7 separate regions of the Homo sapiens genome follow, and all the other regions are linked to region 7. Evidence: promoter capture Hi-C in 16 types of primary human blood cells and fetal thymus (Javierre and others, 2016). All regions are on one chromosome and are shown on one strand. Each heading gives the region's core, a stretch centred on a gene start or on the middle of the fragment in contact. The rest is flanking DNA. Distances are from core to core; before and after follow the strand shown. Region 1 has its middle 13 kb from the start of CXCR1. Region 2 holds the start of TRY-ATA1-1 (tRNA-Tyr (anticodon ATA) 1-1). Region 3 has its middle 14 kb from the start of CXCR1. Region 4 overlaps LINC01494 (long intergenic non-protein coding RNA 1494). Region 5 overlaps WNT6 (Wnt family member 6). Region 6 overlaps PNKD (PNKD metallo-beta-lactamase domain containing). Region 7 holds the start of PLCD4 (phospholipase C delta 4).

Evidence for each region. The method cuts DNA at HindIII sites, captures the fragments that hold promoters and counts their contacts. A CHiCAGO score of 5 or more calls a contact.
Region 1: a fragment that was not itself captured here is called in contact with the fragment with the promoter of PLCD4 in region 7 in 1 of 17 cell types (erythroblasts); the score reaches 5.3 in erythroblasts.
Region 2: a fragment that was not itself captured here is called in contact with the fragment with the promoter of PLCD4 in region 7 in 1 of 17 cell types (erythroblasts); the score reaches 5.5 in erythroblasts.
Region 3: a contact is called between a fragment that was not itself captured here and the fragment with the promoter of PLCD4 in region 7, in 1 of 17 cell types (erythroblasts). The highest score is 7.5, in erythroblasts.
Region 4: a fragment that was not itself captured here is called in contact with the fragment with the promoter of PLCD4 in region 7 in 1 of 17 cell types (M2 macrophages); the score reaches 6.1 in M2 macrophages.
Region 5: a contact is called between a fragment that was not itself captured here and the fragment with the promoter of PLCD4 in region 7, in 1 of 17 cell types (M0 macrophages). The highest score is 5.2, in M0 macrophages.
Region 6: a contact is called between a fragment that was not itself captured here and the fragment with the promoter of PLCD4 in region 7, in 1 of 17 cell types (total CD8 T cells). The highest score is 5.6, in total CD8 T cells.

Annotation. Positions count from the first base shown.
Region 1 is chr2:218,152,353-218,155,325 of GRCh38, forward strand. No RefSeq gene overlaps it. Among named protein-coding and RNA genes, the nearest start is that of CXCR1, 13 kb to the right of the region's middle. The HindIII fragment of the contact is 250 bases long and covers 1,254-1,503 here.
Region 2 is chr2:218,243,226-218,246,273 of GRCh38, forward strand. ARPC2 (actin related protein 2/3 complex subunit 2) reads left to right here. Exons shown (of 11, transcript NM_152862.3): 8 at 2,195-2,321. TRY-ATA1-1 (tRNA-Tyr (anticodon ATA) 1-1) reads left to right here and starts at 2,601; the gene lies at 2,601-2,693. The HindIII fragment of the contact is 698 bases long and covers 1,006-1,703 here.
Region 3 is chr2:218,179,413-218,182,542 of GRCh38, forward strand. No RefSeq gene overlaps it. Among named protein-coding and RNA genes, the nearest start is that of CXCR1, 14 kb to the left of the region's middle. The HindIII fragment of the contact is 1,429 bases long and covers 1,102-2,530 here.
Region 4 is chr2:218,919,934-218,922,996 of GRCh38, forward strand. LINC01494 (long intergenic non-protein coding RNA 1494) reads right to left here. Exons shown (of 5, transcript NR_110238.1): 3 at 1,757-1,827. LOC124906119 (a long non-coding RNA gene) reads left to right here. Exons shown (of 2, transcript XR_007088090.1): 2 at 628-791. Among named protein-coding and RNA genes, the nearest start is that of LINC01494, 9.2 kb to the right of the region's middle. The HindIII fragment of the contact is 1,408 bases long and covers 722-2,129 here.
Region 5 is chr2:218,871,326-218,874,617 of GRCh38, forward strand. It overlaps WNT6 (Wnt family member 6), which reads left to right. Exons shown (of 4, transcript NM_006522.4): 3 at 160-494; 4 at 2,059-2,908. The coding sequence ends at 2,520. It also overlaps a transcript of WNT10A not described here. Among named protein-coding and RNA genes, the nearest start is that of WNT10A, 7.9 kb to the right of the region's middle. RefSeq lists a silencer at 182-251 and an enhancer at 330-1,276. The HindIII fragment of the contact is 2,323 bases long and covers 837-3,159 here.
Region 6 is chr2:218,345,634-218,348,670 of GRCh38, forward strand. It overlaps PNKD (PNKD metallo-beta-lactamase domain containing), which reads left to right. Exons shown (of 10, transcript NM_015488.5): 10 at 1-1,160. The region is part of intron 2 of CATIP-AS2 (CATIP antisense RNA 2); the gene reads right to left. Among named protein-coding and RNA genes, the nearest start is that of MIR6810, 5.2 kb to the left of the region's middle. The HindIII fragment of the contact is 175 bases long and covers 1,701-1,875 here.
Region 7 is chr2:218,605,899-218,609,175 of GRCh38, forward strand. It overlaps PLCD4 (phospholipase C delta 4), which reads left to right and starts at 2,001. Exons shown (of 16, transcript NM_032726.4): 1 at 2,001-2,172. The HindIII fragment of the contact is 12,670 bases long and covers 1-2,491 here.

The sequences.
Region 1 (2,973 bases), core at 129-2,628, 450 kb before region 7:
AAGAAGAAATACCGCAATGAAAAAATGTGGCTGGGCGCAGTGGCTCACACCTTTAATCTCAGTACTTTGGGAAGCCGAGGCGGGTGTATCACCTGAGGTCAGGAGTTCAAGACTATCCTGGCCAACATGGTGAAATCCCATCGCTACTAAAAATGCAAAAATTAGCCGGGCATGATGGCAGGTGCCTGAAATCCCAGCTACTCGGGAGGCTGAGGCAGGAGAATCGCTTGAACCCAGGAGGCAGAGGTTGCAGTGTGCCGAGATCACACCATTGCACTCCAGCCTGGGCGAGAAGAGCAAAATTCTAACTCAAAAGAAAAAAAAAAGTAAAGTAAAGAAAAATTACTAGAAGGTTTTCTGTTCAATTTTGCTGTGAACCTAAAACCACTCTGAAAAATCAACTCTTTATTGTTTTTTAATGCTAGAAGGCAATAAACCAAAATGTGCACTGGGTTGACTTTGAGTGGTGGAAATATGAGTGCTTTTTTTCTTTTTTTACCCTTTTTTTGGCTCTTTCTGTGTTCACACTCTGTACCTGTGTACCCCATGAGTCAGCCTGTGACTCAGCACCTCAGGTAGCCTTCCAAGGTCCCTCCTCCCACATGCATCCCTGAGGCTGCCTGTACCCATTTGCCAAGTTTGCCTCCACCCTCTACCAGTTCCAACCCGGCCACCTGCAGGGGAACAGGGCCAGGTTTCCCTGAGTGTGTTGCTGGCACTGCCAAAATCTCCCCAGTTTTTTTCACTTTCACTCCCAGCCCCATCTCCCTACTACTTAGGTGAGAAGCCCTGGACCTGGGTTGGTCTTGGCCTCAGCACTCAACTCCTGTAGCCCTCAAGGTCTCCCTAAGCCCCAACCCTGAGGCATTGCCTTTAGCAGGCCTGTGTGCTTTCCTCCTGACCCCCAGAAATGAGCTCCTCCCTAAGAGCTCTCAACCCTTCATTTCTTTCAGGGACATTGCTTGCACTGACTTACGTGAATTCCAGAGTGAGCCCAGTTTAGGTTCAAACTGAGACTCTGCTCAATGTTGCTAATCTCCCCTCACAGACTTGAAGCACCCTTTGAGCAGTGGGCCTCAGACCTTAGCTGCAAAGTGGAGCAGAAAAATAGGACCGTAGCTGATGAGATGTGGGATCAAGGGAGGGTTGTTATAAGATGGGAACTCCTACAACAGGCTTGTGAGCTGATGGGCAATCCAGAAGAGAAAAAAATGGATGTCACAGGAACAAGGATATACCTTGATCACTTTCCAAGCTTTATCTTTTCATCTCAAAACATCTCTTGGAAAGAGGTATATCTCAACTCTCCTCCCAACTCCCTGGAGCTATGACATCATGTAGGAAACACTGCCATCACAGTTAGAGGATTTGGAGTTACATCCCGATTTCCCAGTGGACTTGCCTTTCCAAGACTTCTCTGCTGTGATAAATAATGTTTGCCATTTATGGAGACCTTAGTCTACCCTGAAAGCCTGGCATACATTACCCTGAACCTTGACAACAAGCTTCCAATGCTGCCATCCCTTCAAGGAGGGAGGGGTCCAGAGAAGTTAAATTACTTGCTCACGATCACACAAGTCGGGATAGACTAAGCCCTAGGCTACCGCAAATTCACCCTGTGGCTCTCTCTCCACCACAGCACCTCTCTGTGTGTCACACAGCAGTTGAGAGCTCAGACTCCGAAGGCAGCTGGTCCTTGACTTAAACTCCAGTTTTGCCACTTACCCGCTGCTGTTATCTTGAGTGAGGGACTTAATCTCTTTGGCCCTTATTTTCCTCTTCTGTAAAATAAGGATAATAATAATTCCTACCATCAGGTCTTGATGACCATTAAATAAAATAATTTATGTAAAAAGTGTTTTTTTCAGTGCCTGGCACAGAGTAAGTCTTCAATTATGATATCACGGGAAACACACTATACATATAAGGATTTAGATAAGGGTTCTCCTTGTGTTGTAGAATCTAAAATAGAATTCAGGGATCAAAGTGACAATTTCATGGAAATAGGGCGGAAGCAGCTGATCTTTGGGTCTTTTTTTTTTGGGGGGGGGGGGACAGAGTCTCACTCTGTCACCCAGGCTGGAGTGCAGTGGTGCGATCTCAGCTCACTGCAACCACCACCTCTTGGGCTCAAAGCGATTCTCCTGCCTCAGCCTCCCCAGTAGCTGGGAATACTACAGGTGTGCGCCACCATGCCTGGCTAATTTTTGTATTTTTAGTAGAGAAAGGGTTTTGCCATGTTGGCCAGGCTGGTCTCAAACTCCTGACCTCAAGTGATCCACCCGCCTCAGCCTCCCAAAGTGCTGGGATTACAGGTGTAAGCCACTGCACCCGGCCTGGGTGCCTTTCAACAACTCGTTGCTCTTCCCTTGCAACAAAGCCCTCAGGAATCCCAGATTGCTCCTCTCTCTGTCTCCTTGCAAAATCTTCCAACAGATTAATGTTAGCATCTAAGTCCAAAGTGCGGTCCTACCAGTGAGCACAGACCTACCTGTTAGTGAGAGGCTGAGCTTACACGTTGGACTGGAGTGTGCCCATTTGCTCATGAAGTTGAAGGCTTAGAAAAGAGGATCCTATGCTGGAGAACAATTTCAAAACTCCATTCTCATCCCTGGCTTAATGACTGAAAGAATTCCCCCAACCCAGGGGCATTTGCTCTTTTTCTAAGAGGCCTGCCTAGGCCAAATAAAAGAATGGCTGACAGACCAGGGAGGGAAATATTGGATGGGGAGGTGGAAGAGAGGAGAAAGAGAAGGGGACAGAGAGAGGCCTTCTAGGAACTCCTCAGGTCAGACTTGGTCAGCAGCTGCCTGGAAAACACATACTAAGAACTGGCCTTCACAGGGCACCTAATTGTGGATAATCACGATCTGGGCAAAGATGGATGTTTCATGTCAAGTTCACTAGAGCTATAGTCCTGTTTGTCCATCGCAGTACACTCTTAGATTTCGAGCATCTCCCATTCTTAGAACT
Region 2 (3,048 bases), core at 105-2,604, 360 kb before region 7:
CTACTTTTATCATATGCTAAATGCCTTGTATATATTTGGATTTATTCCGAACTTCCTATGATAAATAGTACTTTGGAAGAGAGAAATAATCTGATGCTCAAAAGACATCCTAGCCAGAAGGAGAGTAAAAAGGCAATATTGCTTGATTACGTATAACAAAGATGCCAATGAAGATGGAGGGCTGTTTGGGTGTGTTTGTTTGTTTAAGCTTTATTTAGGAGAGAGAACTGAGGAGAAGCAAAGACATCAGAGAATCTAAAGAATAGTCCCAGTCAGGCACAGTGGCTCACGCCTGTAATCCCAGCACTTTGCGGGGCCTAGGCAGGTGGATCACTAGAGGCCAGTTTGAGACCAGCCTGGCCAACATGGTGAAACCCTGTTTCTACTTTAAAGGCCAAAAATTAGCCGGGAATGATGGCACACGCCTGTAATCTCAGCTACTCGTGAGGCTGACACATGAAAATCACTTGAACCTAGGAGGTGGAGGTTGCAGTGAGCCAAGATCACGCCACTGCACTCCAGCCTGGGTGACAGAGTGAGACCCTGTCTCAAAAAAGAAAGAAAGAATAGGCCCAAGCCAGAAACGTATCGTTGACCGAGCCTTAAATATGTTATTTTCCATATACAAAACTAATGAGTGCTAATAAGTCACCACTGGTTTATAAATACCCCATCTCATTGTGAATACCACATGTACCTGTGAATTAGAGCCTTGGAGACACTTAACAGACACAAGAAAATGCCAACAGTTACGTATCTGTTCTGTTTAATTCCTTAATACCGAAAAGTAAAACCAGTAAAAGTTAAAAAGCTTCTTAACCCCTTTGTAGAATAAAAAATGTTTTCTAGAGAAGGGCGATTTTAGAAGCTTTGCTCTAGAAATTTCCATTTGGGATAATCTTGACTCCTTCCCTTCCTTTTTGGATATTTTTCCTTCGGGGAACAAAATCTGTTCAAAAGGGGACTAATCTAACCCAGTTGATGGTCATTTCTTTTCCTACTTAAAGCTTGGTAGTGTTAGCATGAGAGGCAGTTTGTGAAATAGGTGAGGTCCCAGGCTGGGCATTGGGGCTCCTCAGCCATCATCTTTCTTTTGCCACTAATTGTCGAGAGGGCTTGCTAATCAGTGTTTATTCTTCCTGCCTGCAACTGGAAACAGCCCTTGCCTATTCCTGTACAGTGTGATGATACTAAACCAGCTAGGGTAGAAGCACTTGCTTTCTCTCAGCAAGGCATGTGCTGCATAGCCTCTTTGAAAGACAGAAGAATAAATTACAAAGATAAATTAAGCAGGATCTTTGATTTGAACTCATAACCTGGTAGGGGAGCCAGATACATTAATGAATGGTAAAATATCATAGTAGAGGTTTGTAGAAAAGACATGGCAGCTCCAGCAAGAGAGCAGTACCTGCCTGGGTTTGTTGGAGATGGTATTAGGAGGCAGTATTTGAGCAGCAGTAGAAGGGCACGCAGGCCACATGGCTGTGTAACCATGCCTTCAGAACTCCTAAAACAAGAGACCTTGGAGAGTCCTTGGCAGCATCCTCCTGCTGTCTATCATCTTGGAAGGCCCACTTGATGAATTTGGATTATCCAGTTTTACTGGCATTGCTAGAAAATCTACTTCTGTTCTTGCAGATCTGGCTGAGAGAGAGAAGCCTTGTATTACTTGTCTATTTACATAGGAATGTATGGACTGTAGAAGCTTCAGGTTTGGAGATTGGAACATAGAAGGAAGGGCTTCCTTTATGAGCACCAAGACAACTCAGCTTCTTTCATTCCATTGTCTTCTGTCCGCAAGAAGAGCTTAAGTTTGCTCTAAAGATTTTATTGATGAATTCTAAATAGCAACAGGATCCTCAGTGAAAAAAGACTCATGCAAAGTCCCAGAGCCCAGAGAAAGTATGGTAGTTTATCACCTATGTTAGTGCAAAGGAAAAGGATTATCACTACTTTTCATCACATTTTGAAGATCTGACTTATTAAGTACTTTGCAGTCTCTCCCGTTTGAATCTGAAGTGTAGTGGTAGCAGCTAGCACTTGTCATATTTCAGGTTTGGTGTAGTTTATTTTTAACCTCCTGCTGGTCTGGAGGGCTACAAAGGTCACACCACATAGAACAAACCCTATAGCTTGAGTTGCCACTCATCTTACACCCACTTCTCTTCTGGTTGCTTTTGCTTTGTCTTGGCAGGAGTTCAAAGAAGGACGCAGAGCCAGCCACACAGCCCCACAGGTCCTCTTTAGCCACAGGGAACCTCCTCTGGAGCTGAAAGACACAGACGCCGCTGTGGGTGACAACATTGGCTACATTACCTTTGGTGAGCAGGGTGCACTTGCTGCTTTTGTGCCGCTTTAATGAGTTCACACAGCAGAATACCTAAATCTGCACAGAACCTTGGTTAACATTTTAAGGTAGGCAAACGCAGGCATACCAACTTGTTCCTGTTGCCATTGCAGTGACTAAAGGAGGGATGTCACAGGGTATTAATTACAGAGCAGGCCATATGCTATTTTTGTACAGTAATCCTTTCCTTTTTTTCCCCATTTTTCTTAAATCTTAAAAATAAGACTGAATTCTGATATCAAGAGTTAAGGTCCCTTCAATAGTTCAGCTGGTAGAGCAGAGGACTATAGCTACTTCCTCAGTAGGAGACGTCCTTAGGTTGCTGGTTCGATTCCAGCTTGAAGGAGACAAGTACAGTTTTGGCTGGGCACGGTGGTTCATGGCTGTAATCACAGCACTTTGGGAGGTTAAGGCAGGTGGATCACGAGGTCAGGAGATCAAGATCATCCTGGCCAATGTGGTGAAACTCTGTCTCTACTAAAATACAAAAAAAAATTAGCTGGGCATGGTGGCGCACGTCTGTAGTCCCAGGTACTCCAGAGGCTGAGGCAGGAGAATTGCTTGAACCCGGGAGGTGGAGGTTGTAATGAGCTGAGATCGTGCCACTGGACTCCAGCCTGGGCAACAGAACAAGACTCTTGTCTCCAAAAAAAAAAAAAAAGAGTTGAGGCTGGGTGCGGTGTCTCACGCCTGTAATCCTA
Region 3 (3,130 bases), core at 566-3,065, 430 kb before region 7:
GATCTCCCAAGGGAGGTCCCCCGATCCGAGTCACGGCACCAAATTTCATGTGCGTCCATGTGAAGAGACCACCAAACAGGCTTTGTGTGAGCAATAAAGCTGTTTATTTCACCTGGGTGCTGGTGGGCTGAGTCCGAAAAGAGAGTCAGCAAAGGGTGGTGGATTATCATTAGTTCTTATAGGTTTTGGGATAGGCGGTGAAGTTAAGAGCAATGTTTTGTGGGCAGGGGTGGATCTCATAAAGTACATTCTCAAGGGTGGGGAGAATTACAAAGAACCTTCTTAAGGGTACGGGAGATTACAAAGTACATTGATCAGTTAGGGTGAGGCAGACACAAATCACAATGGTGGAATGTCATCAGTTAAGGGTATTTTTACTTCTTTTGTGGATCTTCAGTTACTTCAGGCCATCTGGATGTATACGTGCAAGTCACAGGGGATGCGATGGCTTGGCTTGGGCTCAGAGGCCTGACACTCATCCCTTGGAGGTAGCTTTGGTGCAGCCACAAGGCAGGTCAACATCAGGGCCCAGGCTCCCATGACAGTCTGAACTTGCCCCACAAGTATCCCTGTGCCCCAGGGGTTGCAACATTAAAAGCAAATAAGAAACACTCTGTCCAGTGAATACAGCGATGAAATGAGCTTAGAGATGCCACAAATTCTTTTTATCCCTTCAGCTCTCGATCTGCTCTTTCTTCTTGTTACTTGGGCTGCAGGGCATATGAAGATTACCCCAGAGGTTCAAGCAGTTCTTGTCATCTCTGAAAAGATGGGGGGATGTGAAATATCCCCACCTTAACACAGTGGTTATGATTTGTCAAAGAATGTTTCGTGCCTCAAACACCAACCTGTTAGCAATGTAGCACTGTTTGATCTTGGGCACTTGTGGCATTGCCTGGCACTCAGTCTTCAGGGTCCATGACCGAGAATGCTCTTCTCAGATGCCCCTGCTCAAATGAGAGGCATGCTGGCGTCCAGAGGCCTCATATTGGACTCAGATCTAACGTGCTGGCCTCAGAGGAGGACTCGAAGAAAACGAGAGCAAAAACTACCCTCCAGCCTCATCGTGTCTCAAATGACCCCACTTCATACCAGTCACAAAGCTTGGGAAAATGGGTCCCCCAACACCGTTTCCTAAGCCCTGAGACTCTCCAAGAGAAGAATGCCTGGGGTTGGGAAGGGAACTATGTCCCTTGCTCACCATCCCTCAGGCACGTGGGCAACAGGAGATAGCACAGGATTGTGTATGGGAGGTGGACAGTCAGTGATGTAACTACCCAAGGGGTTCACCTTGCGCGCTGCCTAGATGGAGCCAATTCCTCAAGACAGAGGAACTGCAATGGAGAAAGAGGAATTCACACAGAGCTAGCTGTGTGGAAGACTGGGGTTTTATTATTACTCCAGTCAGTCTGGAACAAGCAGGGAGCAGAGTTTTTAAGGAAAACTTGGTGGGTGGGGAAAGCCAGTGAGCGAGGAGTGCTGATTGGTCAGGGACGAAATCATAGGGAGTCGAAGCTGTCATCTTGTGCTGAGTCAGTTCCTAGGTGGGGGCCACAAGTTCAGATGAGCCAGTTTATGATCTGGGTGGTGCAGCTGATCCATCAAGTGCAGAGTCTGCAAAATGTCTCAAGCACTGATCTTAGGAGCGGTTTAGGGAGGGTCAGAATCTTGTAGCCTCCAGCTGCATGACTCCTAAATTATAATTTCTAATCTTTTGGCTAATGTTAGCCCTACAAAGGCCGTCTAGTCCCCAGGCAAGAAGGTCTGCTTTGGGAAAGGGCTGTTATCGTCTTTGTTTTAAACTATAAACTCTAAACTGAGTCTCTATCAAAGTTAGTTCAGCCTATGCCCAGAAATAAACAATGACAGCTTGGAGGTTAGCAGCAAGATGGAGTTGATTAAGTTAGATCTATTTCACTGTCTCAGTCATAATTTTCCAAAGGCAGTTTCAGTGATGTGTGGGGTGAAAAAGCAGGTGATAAAGTTCCCTTGTTGGGACTCTTTTGTGGAATCAATGGCTATAAATGGTGAAGAACGTTCGCACTGCAAATACAGTGTTCTCATCTCAAAGCAAACTATACTTCCCAAGGAAACCATGTATGTCAGGGCAAGAGGACAACACCATTTTGTATCAGGATGTGTCCCTCATGCCCTGAAGCGAGGCTTCTCTTAGCTTCCCCACCAGTGACAGGTAACAGCTCCTGTTCTCAGCTGCCCTGGCTGAGCTAATCCATGAATGCTTACCTCCCTGAGGAGGCTGCCTCACATCACACCCCTGAGCGGAGGAAGTATCCTACTTCCTATCAAAGGACCTCTCTGCCAACAAACAGAACTGTTGCCTCTGCCACAGCTCTTTTGGCCAAACTGGGGATGTCCGGTGGGAGTTGCCCCACATTCCCCTCTCCTCTGCTTCTGAATGCCTTTGTCATACAAAGGGCAAGGGAAGCCAACATCCAGAGCTCTTTTGCTGGTCAGAGATTCCCCGAGTGTCTGTCCTTACCCCAGTCTGCTGCATGTGTCTGTGTCATAAAGCTTGGGACTCTGGTGGGAAATGGGGAAACGAGGATAGGTAAATGTTGCCCTAAGAATGAGTCTCATTCCTCTGTTCTTGTTGGGATGTGTTCTTGGGAAGGGTGGGAATTGGGGGAAGCTTGACTTTGTGTCTTCATCAATAAACTTATTTACACACACAGACACACATACACACACATCCCCACACCTTTTTCCAGTCAAGGGCAAGACAAAGGAAGAAAGGAAAAAGCTTTCTCCAGCATTTAAACAAGGGGCCTGGCCAGGCACAGTGGCTGATGCCTGTAATCCCAATGCTTTGGGAGGCTGAAGCAGGTGGATCACTTGAGTCCAGAAGTTTGAGACCAGCCTAGGCAACATGGCGCAACCCTGTCTCTACAAAAATACAAAAATTAGCCAGGCATGGTGGTGTGTGCCTGTAGTCCCAGCTACTTGCAGGGCTGAGGCATGACGATTGCTTGAGCCCAGGGAGTTGAGGCTGTAGTGAGCCATGATCAAGCCATTGCACTGCAGCCTGGGTAACAGAGCAAGACCCTGTCTCAAAAAAAAAATTTTTTTTAATTTTAATTTTAAAAAATTAGGACAGGCACGGTGACTCATG
Region 4 (3,063 bases), core at 176-2,675, 310 kb after region 7:
GTTTTTTGTTTCTTTTTACCTCTTTCTTGCCTTCTTTTGGATCAATCAATATTTTCCTAATTATTTCATTTTCATCCTCTATAAATTAGTAGTCACGTGTTTGCTATTATTGTTATTTTATTACCCACATATTATAGCATGCATCCTTGGCTTAATTAGGTCACCCTTGAATTAGTACTTTCACCCTTTTCTAAATAACTCTAGGGACCTTATGACACTTTAATTCATTTTAGCATTCTCCTGGCTTTCATGTTATTGTTGTCATGTATTTTTTTTTTTTTTGAGACAGAGTCTTGCTATGTTGCCCAGGCTGGCCTTCAACTCCTAGGGACAATGGATCTGCCCTCCTCAGCCTCCCGAGTAGCTGAGATTACAGGAATGTGCCACCACACCTGGCTACAGCAAGGCTTTTGACAAAAATGGTTGAAAGAATTCAAAACTGAGGATCCTAGTGCTGAGGGTGGGATATTTTGTGTTATTGGTCAGTAAGAATGTCTCTTACTTGAGATATGAATCCTGAAGGTGGTAAGAGTTGATTTATTTAGACAGAGTTAATTTTAATTAGTGAAAACTGAAGAACTGACTTGTATTTTGGTCTGACGTATGATTGTTTCAACTTTGCTGCAGTAGCACCTACAAGAGGACCAACATTCTCCAGGAAATTCTGTCCTTTAAAACCATGAGATGAATAATCTTGGTCTGGAAGATATTCATAGAAAGAAGCTTAGAATGTTTGATTTTTGAGCATGAATTAACTGTACAGTCATCAATTAAATAAGCTGATCCACTGAGTAATTGTTGAGATGATCCTTCTGGATGCTGAATAATGCTAGCCTAGAATGGGGATTTGACATTGATATATTCTTTCCTATTAACAAATCCAGTTTTCTTTCTTCCTCCCATCCTCCCTCCTTCTTTCTTTCTTCCTTTCTTTTCCTTTCATTTGCCTTCCTTTCCTTCCTTCCCTTCCCTTTCACAATATTTTACTTTAAAAAAATTATGAAATCCATCATGTACACTTCAATGTGTTAAATATATATGTACATTTTAAAGATTAATAGTCCAGTGAACATCTGTGTACCCACTACTCAGGGTGAGAAACAAATATAACGATGGTCTCGTGTGTTCCTTGTGGGCTCTTCCCCAATTCTTCCTTCTCCACAGAGACCACTTCCACCTGCCTTCTGTGGTAGTTATCTTATAATCCTCTTCATAATTTCTTTCTTTTTTTTTTTTTTTGAGATGGAGTCTCGCTCTGTCGCCCAGGCTGGAGTGCAGTGGCATGATCTCAGCTCACTGCAAGCTCTGCCTCCTGGGTTCATGCCATTCTCCTGCCTCAGCCTCCCGAGTAGCTGGGACTACAGGCACCCGCCACCACGCCTGGCTAATATTTGTATTTTTAGTAGAGACTGGGTTTCACCGCATTAGCCAGGATGGTCTCGATCTCCTGACCTCGTGATCCGCCCGCCTTGGCCTCCCAAAGTGCTGGGATTACAGGCGTGAGCCACCGTGCCTGGCCCCTCTTCATAATTTCTAACACCTCTGAATTCTTCTACTGTATATATATATATATATATACACACACACACACACACACACAATTATATATATTTATATATACATTATATATATACATTATAATGTGTATATATATAATGCATATATATAGTAGAAGAATTTACTTTCTATATAGTAAATTTTGTGTATACACACACATACACATACAAAACTGGATCAGTAAGGAATTTACACTTACTTCTTTAGATGAAGACCCCCAGGAGAGGGTAAGATGACAGAGTCTCTGGGTCAGAAGTGACCTCATTTTCCCTGAAAGTTTACAGGGCAAAGTCACAAGTGAGTCTGTTATGTTTGGGGTGTTTGTCCTCTTCAAATCTCATGTTGAAATGTAACCGTCACTGTTAGAGGTGAGACCTGGTGGGAGGTGATTTGATCATGGGGGTGGATCCTTCACAAATGGCTTAGCACCATTTCTTGGTGATGTTCTCTCCCAGTTAGTTCACATGAGAACTGGTTGTTTAAAAGAATCTGAGACCTCCCCCTTCTCTCTTTTGCGCCCTCTCTTCACCATGTGATGTGCTGGCTCCCCTTCACTTTGTGCCATGATTGAAAGCTTCCTGAGGCCTTCACAAGAAGCTGATGCTGGCACCATGCTTCCTGTACAGCCTGCAGAAACGTGAGCCAAATCAAAGCCTGTTTTCTTTATAAATTACCTAGTCTCAGGTATTTCTTTATAGCAGCACAAGAATGGACTAACACAGAGTCTGTGGGAAATAGGACTCAAAAAATTGGTGGCAGGGTGAAGTGTCACCCAAATACTGGCCATCAGGCAGGAATATGGTCAGGGGGAGTAGGCTGCTCTTATTTTCTCACTCAAAGTTCCCACAGCCTACTTTCAGCTCTCGGGAATGGGTGAGAACAAAACATTTTTGTGGGAGTGAAATAAATATCTTTAGATAATCCACGTAGGAGGGTAAGGAGGGAATAACAGGAACTTCATCAACACATGATATATTAATCCATTTTAACTATAAAGAACTACCTGAGACTGAGTAATTTATGAAGAAAAGAGGTTTAATTTCCTCACATTTCCACAGGCTTAACAGGAAGCATGGCTGGTAACTTACAATTGTGGTGGAGGGGTTAGGGGAATCAAGCATGTCTTACCGTGGTGGAGCAGGAAAGAGCGAGAGTGAAGAGGGAAGTGCCACACACTTTTGAACAACCAGATCTTGTGAGAACTCACTCTCACAAGAATAGCAAGCGGGAACTCCACCCCAATGATTCAATCACCTGCCACCAGGCCCCTCCCCCCACATGTGGGGATTACAATTCGAAATGAGATTTGGGTGAGGACAGAGCCAAACCATATCATTCCACCCCTGGCCCCTCCAAAATCTCATGTCATCACATTTCAAAGCCAAGCATGCCTTCCCAACAGTCCCCCAAAGTCTTAACTCATTCCAGCATTAACTCAAAAGTCTAAGTCCAAAGTCTCATCTGAGACAAGGCAAGCCCCTTCCGCCTATGAGCCTGTAAAATAAA
Region 5 (3,292 bases), core at 748-3,247, 270 kb after region 7:
AAGTTGCCTGAGCCCCACTTCCCCCTCACATGTGTCTGGGCACCCTGCAAGGACCCTGCCTCCCAGGCCCCTGGGGCAGCCCTCCCGCCGCAGGTTTCAGGTCCCAGGCCCCAGCTGACCGCCCCAGCCCGCGCTGATTGCACCTGTCTGCATTCACAGACATTCGGGAGACGGCCTTCGTGTTCGCCATCACTGCGGCCGGCGCCAGCCACGCCGTCACGCAGGCCTGTTCTATGGGCGAGCTGCTGCAGTGCGGCTGCCAGGCGCCCCGCGGGCGGGCCCCTCCCCGGCCCTCCGGCCTGCCCGGCACCCCCGGACCCCCTGGCCCCGCGGGCTCCCCGGAAGGCAGCGCCGCCTGGGAGTGGGGAGGCTGCGGCGACGACGTGGACTTCGGGGACGAGAAGTCGAGGCTCTTTATGGACGCGCGGCACAAGCGGGGACGCGGAGACATCCGCGCGTTGGTGCAACTGCACAACAACGAGGCGGGCAGGCTGGTGCGTACGGGCAGGATGGAGTGAGTGTGTGCGGAAATGTGAGTGTGCGCGCAGGAGTGTGCTTGAGGAAGTGTTGGCAGGAGTGAGGGTGTGTAGGTGGAGGGGGGCGTTAATGTGTGGGGGAGTGCGCACGGGCGGAAAGATGGGCTGCAAGCATGGATGGACATGTGGGAGGAGAGGTGTCCAGCCTCCAAGAAGGAGTCACGTGGGGGTCTGAGAAGGCCAGATGCTGGACGGTACAGCGGGCAGAATGGGGGAAGGGACACTCAGGGAATAGGACTGAGGGTCTTTAGTGACCCCAGGCAGAGAGGGCACAGCTTCAAGACAGGACAGGTGAAGCAAAGCTTGCAGTGGGTAGGAGGTCTGGATGCCTAGGCAGGGGCAGGAGAATAAAACAAAGGTGGGGATGAAAGACAGGATAGAAGCTAATGCAAGGTCTGGGGTTTTGGTACAGGGAAGCCAGGGGGAGTGAGAGAGGCCTAGAAAGAGTTAGAACAGGTCTGAGGGGCAATGGAAAAGAGCGAAGGACAAGGAACCAATCCTAGTGGAGGTTGGAGGGAGTCAGGTGGAGGCCAGGACAGCTGTGACCAATTCTGGGCATTTGCCAACTGGCTGCCCAGCAACACCAGCCCAGGTCTCACCTGCCCAGAGCCATGGCAGCCTCTCCTCTCCCCTCTGTAACGAGGAGAGCCCCAGGAGCTCTCATTCAGGGGCAAGAAGGTTGTCTGGGTGTGATGGTTCCAGGAGGGGGCAGGGCAGACTCAGGAGGTGGGAGTGGGACACATGGTCAGGTTAGCCCCTGGACTCTGAGCTTCCAGAAATGATTTTCTTGGGTCTTCTGAACCATCAGCGCTTGGTGGGTTTGGGAATCTTAGACCCTGCTTCAGACAGTGACTAGGGGAGAGGCCGCCTGGGTTCCACTCTCAGTACTGCATTCCCAGCGGGCCCTCCTGCACCCCATGCCTCCGTTCTAGCGTTCTCCAGGGACATCGCCATACATACCGTGTCCTCTAGGGTTCGGGCCTGAGGCATCGGGCAGGGGGAGGAGGGGGCCTGAAGAGGAATGTCCGGACAGGCCCACATACCTGCCGAGAGGGTTGGGGAGGGGTGACGGAGACAGATGCCCAGGAGGCTGGCTCTGCGTCTGTGCTCAGCCCGGCCTGGGGGCCGTGAGGGGTAGGAATGAGGGGGCCAGGTAGGCAGGAGAGCTAGACTTCGACAGCTGCCACCTCTCCCCTCCTCCAAAGAGAATCTCACCCCTGCTGTCCATTCTGCTTTCTCCCCCACCCCCTGCCTTTGGACCCTGGAATCTCTGCGCTGCATATTGTCCCCGTCTCCCCTCTTCGTCATCATCATATTCCTCCATCCTCACCATTCCTCCTGCTCCTCCCCTCCGAGTTGTCCTTTCCTTGATTTCCTCCCCCTGAACTTGCGGTCTCCTTTTGTCTGCATTTTCCTCTCTTCCTTTCACCTCCCATTCCCAATCTTATTTTCTGTCCATCCGCTGGGCCCTTCCCTGCACCCCCTACCTGTCCACATGCGTCCGCCCCTCTGCCTCCCGCAGGCCGTGCGGAGCCACACGCGCACCGAGTGCAAATGCCACGGGCTGTCGGGATCATGCGCGCTGCGCACCTGCTGGCAGAAGCTGCCTCCATTTCGCGAGGTGGGCGCGCGGCTGCTGGAGCGCTTCCACGGCGCCTCACGCGTCATGGGCACCAACGACGGCAAGGCCCTGCTGCCCGCCGTCCGCACGCTCAAGCCGCCGGGCCGAGCGGACCTCCTCTACGCCGCCGATTCGCCCGACTTCTGCGCCCCCAACCGACGCACCGGCTCCCCCGGCACGCGCGGTCGCGCCTGCAATAGCAGCGCCCCGGACCTCAGCGGCTGCGACCTGCTGTGCTGCGGCCGCGGGCACCGCCAGGAGAGCGTGCAGCTCGAAGAGAACTGCCTGTGCCGCTTCCACTGGTGCTGCGTAGTACAGTGCCACCGCTGCCGTGTGCGCAAGGAGCTCAGCCTCTGCCTGTGACCCGCCGCCCGGCCGCTAGACTGACTTCGCGCAGCGGTGGCTCGCACCTGTGGGACCTCAGGGCACCGGCACCGGGCGCCTCTCGCCGCTCGAGCCCAGCCTCTCCCTGCCAAAGCCCAACTCCCAGGGCTCTGGAAATGGTGAGGCGAGGGGCTTGAGAGGAACGCCCACCCACGAAGGCCCAGGGCGCCAGACGGCCCCGAAAAGGCGCTCGGGGAGCGTTTAAAGGACACTGTACAGGCCCTCCCTCCCCTTGGCCTCTAGGAGGAAACAGTTTTTTAGACTGGAAAAAAGCCAGTCTAAAGGCCTCTGGATACTGGGCTCCCCAGAACTGCTGGCCACAGGATGGTGGGTGAGGTTAGTATCAATAAAGATATTTAAACCACCAGGGCTGGACCCACAGTTTTGGGGGAGACTGATCTTCAGGCTGCCAGGCTCCAGAAGAAGGTGGTTTTGCTAGAACTAGCACCTCAGGGGCTATCACCTGGGTCCCTATCTCCCGACCAGGTTGGCCTCTCCTGGAAACTCGCTATCTCCCCTTGGCATTCTTCTTGTTCACTCCTGTCACACATCTAGGTCCTGGATCTGCAAGCTGGAGAAGAACTAGCAATTCCTCTTTAAAGGGACAGGGGCATCAGAAGCTTCTGATGCATACCTCTTGACACCCAACAATATTTCCTTCCTTCTGGTTCCTCTTGGGAAGCTACTGGTGAAAGTGAGGAGACAGAGGGCAGTTCTGGATTCTCCAGAGCTGAAGCTTGAGCTCTCATCT
Region 6 (3,037 bases), core at 538-3,037, 260 kb before region 7:
AGGAGGGTCCTGATTGCCAAGGAAACCTCCTCATTGGGCTAAGGAGACACTGGAGTCTGGAGTGTGGAGCCCCACAGTCTTGCAGGTCACATGCTCTCCTTGCACATCTGGCCTGGTTGTACCCACTGGCCTCTGCCTCTGCCCTGGGCCAAAAGGGCCCCTCCTTGCCAGGGGAGAGACAGCCACGGTCCTCTTTGGCCGATGCTGTATTCTCATTTTGGCCCTTGTTCTTAGGCCCGTCTGCCCGCCTTCCTCCATCTAACCTTTCCTGTTTTATCCGCAGCCCTTTTCTTCTTTGAGTTAGTAAAGATTTATTCTGTAACCTGACACTCATCTGGCCCTTTGCAGTTTGCCAGCCATATTCCCATGTGATTTCCCACTGGATCCAGGCCCCCATCCGGCTGGCAGGAGGGGGCTCTGACGTGCAGGTTGGAAATCAGAAGTCTGTGAGAGCGCGGGAGTGCATGGCAGCTCTGGGTCCCAGACCTGGCCCGACCCCTCTGCTTCACCTCCAGCTCTGCTGCTCCTCTACTCTTGGGTCGAGATCCCTTTGGAGCCACAGCGAGGAACCCTGTGGTCCTCAGGCAGGTGTACCTTGAGTCAGCCAGGAGCCCTCTTTTCCTGTGTCAAAGCCTGCCCTCGGGCTCTGCTCACCTCTGGTGACCCTCCAAGATGCCCCTGCCCTCAGTTTCCCCTCATGATCTGGCCTCTGCCCCCTTCTCTAGCCACAGCCTCTAGTACACTTTAGCAATACCACCAGACTAGTTAGAGTTCCCCACTCACCAAGCAAGACATGCAGTTTCATGCCTCTGTGCCTTCGCTCATGCTGTTTCTTCCGACTGGAATGCCTTCCCCTGCTCCTCCTGCCTTGTCTGCCTGGCAAGTTCATCTCTCACGATCCCCTCAAAGGCCCCCTCCTCCAGGAAGGCAACCCCTGTGCCCCTCCCCTCCAGGCTACCTCTGCACTTTGTCAATGCTTCTCTTGTGGCACTTATCACACTGTATTTTACTTGTTTACATGTTTGTCTCCCCTTCTAGACTGTGAATCCTTAAGGGCATGGACTGTATCTTATGCATCTCTGTATTTCTGCGCCTAGCACGGTGCCTAGCACACAGTAGGCGCTCAATAAATGTTGAATGAATGAATGATTTAATCAAGACTTGATCACCCAACAGCTTGTCTTTGTTGCTACATGAGTGAAAACAGCAGAGAACTTTCTCACAGTTTTCCCATCTCAGTTCCAGGCCTGCTAACTTGCAGTTAGGCACTTCAAGAGTTTTGATCAGAAATGATGCCCAAAGGCTGGGCGCAGTGGCTCACACCTATAATCCCAGCTCTTTAGGAGGCTGAGGCGGGTGGATCACAAGGTCAGGAGTTCGAGACCAGTCTGGCCAACATAGTGAAACCTCATCTGTACTACAAATACAAAAAATTAGCCAGACATAGTGGCAGGAGCCTATAATCCCAGCTACTCAGGAGGCTGAGGCAGGAGAATCACGTGAACCCAGGAGGCGGAGGTTGCAGTGAGCCGAGATCGCACCACTGCACTCCAGCCTGGGCGACAGAATGAGACTCTGTCTCAAAAAAAAAAAAAATTTTTTTAAAAAGAGAGAGAGAAATGATGCCTAAAATATGTTCTTCCCAAGGCCCATGGGCATTTGTTCAGGGTTTACGATTTGCTTATCTCAATGTTTCCCAAAGCTTGAGATACACAAGTGTACCACTGGCCAAAGTAGGGTGGCTGTACATGGCCACAGCACAGCAATCAATTGGACTTCAAGGACACGGTCTTGGCACTAGTCTGTCTTTAATGTCTTTGGAAAGAAAGACCCGGGATCCAGGTTCATACTTTAGTTGGGAAATGTCTGTAGTTAAGCTTTAACAACATCGTTTTGTTTTCATTATATTTATATTTGGGTTCAATATTTATTTTTGACAAGTGACACTGGTTTTCAGTTCATAAAAATGATTAAAGGGCCGGGCGTGGTGGCTCACGCCTGTAATCCCAGCACTTTGGGAGGCTGAGGCAGGCGGATCACGAGGTCAGGAGATCACGACCATCCTGGCCAACATGGTGAAACCCCGTCTCTACTAAAAATACAAAACTTAGCAAGGCATGATGGTGAGCGCCTGTAATCCCAGCTACCCAGGAGACTGAGGCACGAGAATCGCTGAACCCGGGAGGCAGAGGTTGAAGTAGGCCAAGATCGCACCACTGTACTCCAGCCTGGGCAACAGAGGGAGATTCTGTCCCAAAAAAAAAAAAGATGAAATTTGGGTGGGGACAAAAAGCCACACCATATCATTATAATAGAACAACTTATATTCCTTTGGGTATATAACCAGTAATGGGATTGCTGGGTCGAATGGTAGTTCTGTCTTTAGGTCTTTGAGGAAACACCACACTGTCTTCCACTTTGGTTGAACAAATTTACACTCCCGCCAACAGTGTATAAGCGTTCCTTTTACTCTACAACCTTTCCAGCGTCTGTTATTTTTTGACTTTTTAATAACAGCCATTCTGACTTGTGTGAGATGGTATCTCATTGTGGTTTTGATTTGCATTTCTCTAATGATGAGTGATGTTGAGCTTTTATTCATATGTTTGTTGTCCACATGTATGTCTTCTTTTATTTATTTATTTATTTATTTTTAATTGATCATTCTTGGGTGTTTCTCGCAGAGGGGGATTTGGCAGGGTTATAGGACAATAGTGGAGGGAAGGTCAGCAGATAAACAAGTGAACAAAGGTCTCTGGTTTTCCTAGGCAGAGGACCCTGCGGCCTTCCGCAGTGTTTGTGTCCCTGGGTACTTGAGATTAGGGAGTGGTGATGACTCTTAACGAGCATGCTGCCTTCGAGCATCTGTTTAACAAAGCACATCTTGCACCGCCCTTAATCCATTTAACCCTGAGTGGACACAGCACATGTTTCAGAGAGCACAGGGTTGGGGGTAAGGTCATAGATCAACAGCATCCCAAGGCAGAAGAATTTTTCTTAGTACGGAACAAAATGGAGTCTCCTATGTCTACTTCTT
Region 7 (3,277 bases), core at 751-3,250:
GAAGAATACTGTTGTATTCATGGGAACATTGAAACAGAATATTTGAGATCTAGACTCTCCCAGAAAATCCACTATGAGTGATAACACCCCTCACAGATTACCCAAGAGGGAAGGAGGTTGGGCAGCATTAAATTGATGCAAATAGTGACTCAGAAAGATGGTATATAATCTGGGGGTATAGAAGAGGAGTGTGGACTGTGAAGGTGAGGCTTGGAAAAATAAGCTGGCCATGTTGGGGAAGTAGAAATGGGAGAGCAAGACAAGCATGTAAAACAGGGCCTCTATTAAGTCAAATCTGAAATCAGCACAGTTTAAACTACGATGCCCCCCAATCTTCCTGTTCCCCATGAATGGCCTCCCTCCTAATGTGTCCCCTTCCTTCATACTACTACTCTTCTATCAAAACCTGCTCTCAGTAAAGAATATAGACAACCCAACCTAGGTATAAATTATTTAAAATCTACTTTGACCTTAGGATTGAATTTTTAAAAAATTATTTATAATCGGCTGGGTGCAGTGGCTTACGCCTGTAATCCTAGCACTTTGGGAGGCCAAGGCAGGTGGATTGCCTGAGCTCAGGAGCTCAAGACCAGCCTGGGCAACACGGTGAAACCCCGTCTCTACTAAAATACAAAAAAAAGTAGCTGGGGGTGGTGGCATGCACCTGTAATCCCAGCTACTCAGGAGGCTGAGACAGGAGAATTGCTTGAACCCGGGAGGTAGAGGTTGCAGTAAGCCAAGATCACGCCATTGCACTCCAGCCTGGGCAACAGCGAGACTCTTATCTCAAAAAAAAAAAAAAAAAAAAAAAAAAATATATATATATATATATATACACACACACACATATACATATACATATATGTATATTTAAAATCATTAAGCCTTCAAAAGTTAACACAGATATATGATATTTTAAATGAGACCTAAAAAAATAAATTTAAAAACACATATAGAAAATATATCAAGAGAATGTATAGCTTAATAAATTATTAAGTGAAGACCCTTGTTAGCACTTAGAACTAGAAATAGAGTTTAGCTAGCTATGCCAGAAGCCCCCTCTGTGTCCCATCTCACCACAATTCCTCCCCCTCCCAACAGTAACCACTATCCTGACTTTTATAGTAATCACTTAGGAGGATTTTATTTTAATGGGACTAAAAAATGTAGCTATAATCACTAATGGTAAAATATTAGGCAGTTGAGGGATGCTTGTGGAAACCATGATAGGCAGCCAGACGTCAGCACACTTAAAATTACACCATTTCACACAGTTCCCCTCTGAGCCTATGCTTCATCTCTGCACACATCTTTATAAACATGCATGTATGTCCTGAAGGTGCTACCTCCATTCTGAGGGCTATGACTTATAACCCAGAGGTGCTGAACAGATGCTTGTAGGAGGAACGAATGGATGTTTAAAAAAAAATGAGCTGTTTCACACGTTCATCTATGCATTCTTTCAATATTTAATGAGTGCCTAAAATATACATAGATTCTAACCTATCTGTCCCTCTACATTCTATCATCATTCCTGTCCTCCCCTTCTCCTCGTCTTCCTCTTTTCCCATCTTATTTCTTTCTTTTCCTGTGGGACGGAGCTACAGTGAGTGCCCTGCAGGCAGGATTCAGAGATACAGGAGCAGGCCAGTGGAAACAGACACTATGGAAAGGAGCCAGATTAAATAAGGGCAAAAACAGCCGTATTACATGCAGGAACCAGAATGAAAAGCAGTGATTCACAGAGCACTGCAACTGAGGACACTCCCTTCACTTTGAGAGCTACTGCGGGATTGGGGTCAATGAGGGCTGGCATCAAGATGAAGGGCAGCCAGGCTCCTCCCTGGAGATGTGCTGCCCTTAATCCTTCTCTCCCCACCCCACCCCCACTACTCCCTCACATTGACCAGTGTCCTGGGCCTTTAAGAGTTGGATGGGCTGGACTGGAGAGAGCTCACACCTCTCCCCTTCTTACTGCTTCCCTCCGGCTATAACTTGCCAGTCACAGCAGCCAGCTGCTGTAGAAGAGGGGAGGAAACAAGCCAGTGCAAGGGGAGCAAAAGAGAAAAGGAGCCAGGCTGGGCTTCCTGATCCCACAGCATCGCAGAGCTCGGGAGGCACAGCTCACAGACACAGGAAACACAGGACTGCTATTCTGCTCTCCTGCCCACGGTAAGGATCTGGAAGCTCTGACTACCCTCTGCTCTAAGCTCTGTCTTCCCTGAGTCCCTACCTCTGCCCTCTAGATGCTTATCCACCCTGATTAAATTGTACCCTAGACTCCTTTCCTCATCCCAACAGCTCTACAGGGCTCCCACCTCCTGGTTCTCTCTAGCTTATCCTCCTTTATCCTTACAGCTTTCCTCCTGGCTGTGTCAGTCGCCCTTTATATGAGGTACCTCTTAGCTTATGCAGGGCCAGAAGTGCCAACCCTAGCCACTCCTGAGGTGAACTCCACCCCCAATAAGGGAAGAAAAAATTGGAGTAGCTAAGCTTTAGCATAGATTCATTAACAGTTTGTTGAGGGTTGCAAAATAGGGGTTGGCCAAGAACCATGGGGAATCAGAGATCCCTGGTAATAGAGAGAGTTATGAAAGTCCCTTAGAAAGTTCTCTAAAGAACTTGTTCTTTGCCTATTCCATGGGCCAGAGCAGTTTCTTAGTGCACCAGAGTGCTACGTTGGTAAGAAAACCTACTTCTAGTTCTGCCTGTGCCATTAACTAGCTACGGGACCTGGAGCCACAACTTCCAGATCTGTGATACGAGAGAGTTTAGGGTTTCCCAGACTTGCCTGTGTACCAAGTGTACTTGTTAAAAATAAATATATTATTGAGCCCCACCCTGGGTAACTCTGATCTGGTAGATTTTTGGGTAGGGCTAAGGATCTCAATTTCAAGACATTCCAGAGGCTATTGATGTAGCTGGGAATGTCTGGATTAGATGTGTTATAAAAGAACTGGCCGGGCGCGGTGGCTCACACCTGTAATCCCAGCACTTTGGGAGGCCGAGGCGGGTGGATCACGAGGTCAGGAGATTGAGACCATCCTGGCTAACATGGTGAAACCCCGTCTCTACTGAAAATACAAAAAATTAGCCGGGCGAGGTGGGTGGCGGGTGCCTGTAGTCCCAGCTACTCGGGAGGCTGAGGCAGGAGAATAGCGTGAACCCCGGGGGGCGGAGCCTGCAGTGAGCCAAGATCGCACCACTGCACTCCAGCCTGGGCGACAGCGAGACTCTGTCTCAAAAAAAAAAAAAAAAAGAACCTTCAAGCTCCAAC